Regions from separate parts of the Homo sapiens genome. Here region 2 is linked to region 1. The links are contacts of gene promoters, found by promoter capture Hi-C in blood cells and fetal thymus (Javierre and others, 2016). All regions are on one chromosome and are shown on one strand. The core of a region is centred on a gene start or on the middle of the fragment in contact, and the rest is flanking DNA. Distances in the headings are between cores, read along the strand shown.

What was found. Contacts are between HindIII fragments. The CHiCAGO score rates a contact against its expected background, and 5 or more counts as called.
Region 2: a fragment that was not itself captured here is called in contact with the fragment with the promoter of RTP5 in region 1 in 2 of 17 cell types (megakaryocytes and endothelial precursors); the score reaches 8.0 in megakaryocytes.

Annotation. Positions count from the first base shown.
Region 1 is chr2:241,867,754-241,871,352 of GRCh38, reverse strand. RTP5 (receptor transporter protein 5 (putative)) reads right to left here and starts at 1,624. Exons shown (of 2, transcript NM_173821.3): 1 at 1,439-1,624. The coding sequence starts at 1,596. The HindIII fragment of the contact is 6,184 bases long and covers 1-3,540 here.
Region 2 is chr2:241,658,971-241,662,434 of GRCh38, reverse strand. It overlaps ATG4B (autophagy related 4B cysteine peptidase), which reads right to left. Exons shown (of 13, transcript NM_013325.5): 7 at 3,248-3,327. Among named protein-coding and RNA genes, the nearest start is that of ATG4B, 23 kb to the right of the region's middle. RefSeq lists enhancers at 810-1,309, 1,310-1,811. The HindIII fragment of the contact is 2,528 bases long and covers 798-3,325 here.

The DNA of each region.
Region 1 (3,599 bases), core at 375-2,874:
GCGTCGGCAGCCTGCCACCTGCGTGGCTCTGCTGGTGTTTTGTGAGTTGGGGTTAACACAGGAAGAGGCAGGCCTGCCGACACACTTAGGAGGGGAAAAGCATGCATGTGGGGGCTGTCCCTGGGGGCTCAGCAAGTGGGGGTCCCTGTCCTGACTGAGAGGAGGCGATCCAGGAGGTCGCCTGCCAGCTGAGGGGAAGGATGTCACGGAGGCCTGCGGTCATGGCCCGGGCAGCCCTGCTGGGCGTCACCAGGCGAGGAGAGGTTTGGGGAGAGCACTGGGAGGGATTGGCTTGTCCATGGCGGTCATCAGACCGGTGACCATTTGCTAGCCACACAAGCAGCTGTGAGCTTCAGGGAACCCTGCATGAGTGAGAGGCTATGATTCAGTTCCAGGCAGTGGAAGTTTCTGGATGACAGAATGTTCTATAGCCACACTGCCCTGCCTGCAGCCTCCAACCACACTGGCCACAGAGCCCGTGGACACGTTCGTGCTGGAGGAACTGAACTGCTGACTTTATTTAAATGGGACTGAGGAGCCAAAGCCACGGGCGCTGGGGCTGCATGTTGGGGCAGCCGTCCTCAGTTCTCTCCCGCCAGCTGGGAGCCGCTCAGAGCCATCTCCACCTGGCTGTGGGAACAGTGATGTGCTTCCCAGCACTTCTCAGACCCCAACACGGGTTATTACTTTCCCAGCTTCTGAAAAAGCTGGGATTCTGCACACACCTGGCCCCAGGGGTCTCAGGCACTGAGGAGCTGTGTCAAAGGGCAGGACGACTCCCCCTTTGCCCAGGGTGTCTCCACAGAGGGACGGACCAGCCAGCAGCCTGGGGGCCTGTCAGGCCGGGCATCTGCGAGGATGTGGAGCTGCCCCGCGCCCCTCCCAGCTGGCACCCGGCCGAGCTGTGGATGCCTTGCCAGTTGGAGAAGCGCATGGCGCCCGCCCTGCTGCGCTGACGGCACCACAACCGTGATGACGGCCTGTGAGGCTCACTTGTGACCCACAGCCACCCCGGGCCCCCGATCAGGGCCGAGCACCCCGCTGTGTGCAACACAGGGCCGGATGGTGACCACAGGCTCCGGCACGCCCCAGGGCCCACCTGTCAGCACTGATGGCTGCGAGACCACGGCAGTGCCATGGAAGCAGGAGATGAGCCTGTGTCCAAGGGCAGCGCTGGCCCAAGGAGCCGAGTGAGGGAAACCAAACTCTCCATGAGGCACCCGCCATGTCTTCCCCGGGACCCCTGCGTCAGCAGCCGTGTGCCCAGCATGGCGAGGCAGGGGCTCCGGCGGGAGAAGGAGCACCCAGCCCCACCCTCCCGTCTCGGGGACAAGACGAGGCCCAACAGCCCCACCCAGCCTCTGGGACCACCCAAGGTCCCGTGGAAAAGCACCTTCAGCCCCCTGCCTCTCCCAGGGTCCCCAACCTCTGGCCGCACCTCGAGAGCCCCACCAGCAGGTACTGGACACCACCGCCGTCCAGGCATCCCGGGACCAGGCTGTGCTCAGGTAGCAGAACCCAGACGTCCTGGGGCTTCCTCTCGGCCATGGCCAGGGTGAAGGTGCTGGCCCACATGTCTGCCCCAGCCCGGTCCATGCTGCCGCCTGGCTCCGCAGTGTGGGCTGAGGGCTGCGCCCGCCGGGGGCCCAAGGAAACGTCCCCGCATCCCGCGCCGGCCAATCAGCCACCTTGACAACAGCATGGTCTCCATGGCAACCAGATTTGTCTCCGAGAAATGGGAAGCAGAAAGGAAAAATACAATACAATGCAATCTCCCATGACCCCGCCCCCCAGAGAGCATCCCTGTGGCAGCACCGTGGTGGTGGTGGTGGGCGTGGGCCCGTGGACACGCAGGGGCCTCCCCAGACCCGTGCGTGTAGAGGCCCGGGTGTTTTCACACATCGCACCAAGGAATCATCCACAGCCCTCTCTTTCTAGTGCACATCAGGAGCGGTGGCCCACACTCATCCCTTGCTGAACACTTGGTATTTTTCCAGCTTGTGGCTATCATGTAACTTATTCACTCAGCTTCTCTCTGCAAACAGCACTAATGCTTTTCACACAAACAAAGCTGAGAAGAACTTTATAGAACGTGTATCATTGCAGATTGTCCCGTGGGTGTATTCTCTTAAACTTTTTACTAGTGAGAAATATAAAATATTTACATAAAATGCCTAAAACATAAATGCAGAGCTTCACAAATTATTCTAAAGTCTTAAGTCACCACGTCCTATAGGAAGAAACAAAACCTCGCTCTGCCAGCCTCCAGAGCTGGCTGCCTGTTCCCTCCCGATCTCAGCCCGCGGCCCCACCCCCACCCCCTGCCCTCCTGGCAGAGGTGCCACCAGCCTGGCCGTGCCTGCACAGACAACGTTGAGGCTTCAACACCTATGATGCCTCCCTCACCGAGCCCTTTAGCTGTGCAGCTTCTGAGCTTTACATAAACAATTCATGCATGTGCCCAGCTTCTCACGCCTTTTCAGGTTGTTTAATTTCTGAGATTCAACAGCATTGCTGTGCGTGGCAGCCACCTGTCATGGCACAACAAGAAAGGGTGAGCTGAGAAGGAGCCGGGACGTGCAGGGGCGGAGACAGCCAGCTGATCCCTGCAAAACCTCAGCACAGATCTGCCCCCGGGAGGCTCCCGGCCACCCGGCTCTCCTCACAGCTCCCATCTCGCCATCTCTCTGCCCTGCACACTGAACAATCTCTTCTCATTTTTCTACCACTTCACACATTATCTCCTCGTCTCTGTCGACTCTGCAGCTAATGCTGGCAAGCGCCTTGTCATAGTTTTCATTTCTGAACCTTCTTTTCGGCCCTTTCAAACCTGTGACATCTTCCCGCCTTGCAGCTAGGTGTGACTGCAAGATAGAAGAGGAAGCCAGTGGGACGCACTCTGGGAAGGGGCCTCCATACAGGGCCAGACTGCCAGGGAAAGCCCCGCGTTTCTCATCCCAGCTTCATTTTCTTCTATCCATCAGTGCTGGGATGATGGCCGCACTCCAGCCTGTCTTAGACCTGCCTCAAGCACAGAGCTGTGAGCCCAAGGAGCAGGAAGGCGGGAGCCCGGGGCTGTGGTGACAGATGGAGTCGTCACACCACTGGAGGGTCGCCCACCTCTGGGTTTCCTGTTCACACGAGAAGTAAGCCAGCTGCCACTGTGGTCTCGAGGCACTGTTCTCTGGCACTGTGGATGATCACACAGCTAGCCGGAGCAATCCTAACTCACTCGCCGGGCTGTATCTAAGGTCCTGGGGTTTGCTGGTTGGCTCCGGGCCACTGTGCGTGTGTGGGCCCCTTGTGGTCCTGGTCGTGTGCCCCCGCAGGGGTCTAAGAGACACCTACTGTCCACTTGCCTCCAAAAGCCTCGGTCCACAGGGGTCCCTGCAGAGGACCTCCTCCCACCACAGCCCCCCAGAGCCAGTGTTTCCTGGCTGCTTCCGTGCCACGCTGGGGCCACAGCCCTGCCTGCCAGTCCCACCTCTCAGGCTCCTCAGCCCTGGAGGCCACACCTGGCTCTGAGTTTAGGGAAAAGCTTTGGAATGATGACTGACCACAGTCACCCAAAATAACCTTTTGGATGGCAATTCCGGCCC
Region 2 (3,464 bases), core at 812-3,311, 210 kb after region 1:
TTATATTTCTCTATCAATGACAACTACACAGTACACATACCTACTCTCACCTCATGAAGCCAGGTCTTTTCTCAGAATTCTAAACATTTTCCAGTAGCATTTGGTATGGCACAAAGATGAGATGCCCAGGCCAGTTGAGACTGCCTTTCTTCAAAGCAGCTTAGTAGTGATACTATTATTTGGATGTTTAGAGAAGTTTCCCTTTACTTCTGCAATTTGGAAATATTATCAGGAACATGTATGTTTAAGTACTTCTGATAAAAAAATTTGGGGGTCTTTAGCTCTAAAGACTCAACTCTCACCAACTCAGGGGAATTTTCTCCTACTCCTTCAGTGGCCAACTCTCCCGAAAAGTTCTAATCCACATACTCTGCTCTCAGCTGCCTCTATTTGGCTGCACTGCCTCTCAGAGAGTTGAGTTCCAGCTATTGTGATTCTCCTCCCCACTCTGTTTCTGACTGTGCTTGCTCTGGTATTTACTTTTCTTTCATTGGAGTCATTTGTCCTCACTGCCAGACTGACACGTTTTCCAATCTGTATTTCCTCCCTACATTCAGTGACATTCTGTCTACTGTCGTTAGAAAGGTCTAAGCCCATCAACGTTAAGGACAAGAAGAGCATGCTAAGGATGTCCTGGCTGGCCTTTGACTGGGGGTGGACAGAAGGATGAGTTGCGGGGGGGATGGGTTGGTGGATGGGGACACTGTAGGCAGTAAGGTCTCCCCTTACCCCACAGGCTTCACCTAAAATCTGAGTGGGAACACCGTCAGGCAGCTCTTTCGCTGCAGGAAGAAGCTTTAGTGGAATTTCTGAATGGCATCAGTCTTCTCCTATCTAACTGCTCCTTCCACAAGCAGTTCCGAGAAACTAGAAGAAAAGTCCTTGCTTAGCCAAGGACACGTCTGTTTCTCTAGCTTCGGCTTTGCGGACTTCTTCCTCAGACGTCCTCCCTTGCGCACTCTTAGCAGCACGACTGAAAAAAGCAGCCTGCTTCCTGCCCTCCCCCCACTACTCCCTCCTGGGGCTTTTGGTAGGGGTCATTCAGAACGACCCCGATGTCCTCCTCACAACACCACGCCACACTCAGGAACCCAGAAACCCAAGCCTTGTGCATCAATGCCAGTGCCTTTGCTGGCTGGATGTGGATGCCTTTCTTCCTAAATGGGGGCATCAGGCACCTTCCACATGCTCCTGTGAGGAACAGTGTCCTTTCAGGCAGCTGACGCAGTGAGACGAAGCCAGTCAGACCAGGCAGCCTCCACATCCTCCCGGGAGCCACCATCCCCAGGGGCTGGGAAATGCAGATTCAAGCTCTTCCAGGACCTGACTCCACTCTCACTCTGACAAGCCACGTTTCAGCAGCACTGCTTTGGGCAGCCCTGAGACTCCCGAAGGGACGGAGCTGGAGTCCACACAGACAAGCTGCCCCCAACACTCCCACCAGTGCTACCTGCACCCAGAGGGACGGAGGTTCTAGGAAGCCCTGACCCTTGCGCCTTCCTGGCCACTGCACCCAGCAACAGCCTCCCTAATCCGAGGCCAGGGACTGAGGTGTGACTTGGTGAGATCCTGAGCACGCGTGCGGAACGAGGGGGTAAGTGATTTCCCCAAACACGGGAGGGAGGATGGGGCAGTGAACAGGGAACTAAGGTATAATAGTATATTGTGTAGCCAGTTAATAATTACAATGCTGTCACTCATGGCCAGGAGAAAATACTTAGGAAACTATGTAAGTTTTTGAAAAGCACAGGAGAAATACTGAGAGTAAGAATGTCAAAATGCTCATATGAGTTATTTCTGAGTGGTAAAATCAATAATTTTTCTCTTTCTTTGTACTCTTCCTGTGTTTCCAATGTTTTATAAAAATTTCAAGAAACAGAATGGAGGAAAAAGGCAGATGGAAGAAACAAACACCCTTTGGTTATGATCCCAAGTTCAAGTCTCTGAGGAACAGAATCCTGGAAGGAGAGCCTGCTGTGGCAAAGCTCTCAATGCTGCAGAAGCCAGCCTCACTCTCCCTTATAAAGTCCTGCCTCACTCCCTCCGCTGTGTCACAATGCCCCCGAGGATGGCCAGACGATGAAGAAACAGAATGGAGAGGCAGGGAAGGGGCGTGTCTGTGACCCAGCACACACCTGTGTGGTGACCTGGCACACCCACAGTCACAGGGCAGGACCCACTCCCACTGTGAATCTGTGCGCAGTTACGGCTGTGGCTCTGAATGAGGTCTTTTTTTTGGGGGGCGGGGGACGGATTCTCGCTCTGTGGCCAGGCTGGAGTGCAGTGGCGTGATCAAGGCTCACTGCAACCTCCGCCTCCCAGGTTCAAGCGATTCTTCTGCCTCAGCCTCCCGAGTAGCTGGGACTATAGGCGCGTGCCACCATGCCCAGCTAGTTTCTGTATTTTTAGTAGAGACGGGGTTTCACCATGTTGGCCAGGCTGGTCTTGAACTCCTGACCTCATGATCCACCCACCTCGGCCTCCCAAGGTGCTGGGATTACAGGCATGAGCCACCGCGCCCGGCCTAAATGAGCTCTTTCTTATGGAAAATTGGATTCAAGGCAATAGCCTACATGTAGAACTTCAATAAAATTGGAATTGAGGGAGTTTTGAGAAGTTCCTTGGGAAAAAGGTGGCCCTGAGTGAAAAAGGCAATGAGGCATTTTTAAGAGTTCTCAGCTTGGCTACATCATGGAAGGTGAAACATGAATTTGGAACTCACTCAATGAGCCCATTTGTTAAAACTGAGCCACAGTTTTCCTCCTAGATGTAAATGTTGCCACGCCCAGGTTCCTTCAGGGTTGCAGCAGACCTTTCTTCCAGAAAGCTGAAAAGAGCTCTGCCTTCACGACGTGCCTTTGCTCGAGATGGTGCAGCTAGAGATGGTTGCTACATCTCTCTGTCGCACATCAAGGCACGCAAAATAACTTCACCAGAATTCCCACACGAGGGCGCCTAAGCACAGCAGGGCCTTCATAAACGATTTGTAACCAAGACACAAAACACGACGTGAGATACCAAGTCGCGGCCTCCAGACAGCCTGGGCTCTCCTCTCTTGGTATGACCGCCGGGATAGGAGAGCGAGGCCACCGTGCATCTGGCTTGGCGCACAGGCCCCACGGAGCACCTGCACGGCATGGGGCGACTGACAACACTCGCCGAGGCTCCCGTGGGGACTCAGGCGAGGAAGTGTGTATGTTGCCCGTGATTTCAACTTTCTTGTCCATGGAAACTCTGAGCCACTTACTGATTTCCTCCATCACAACAGTGTTGTCCATTGCAATGTGGACCGCCAAGGAGCTCCACGTATCGAAGACAGCAAGCTTCCTACAGAGAGTAGGAGAATGACCATAAGCTTTTGTACAATTCAAAGACGGTTCATCTTTGCAGCTATAGCTGCGCGAAGGAGGGTTCGCGTTAGAGGTGCTTCTCGGATGAGAAGGGCCAAGGCTCCTAAAATCCGG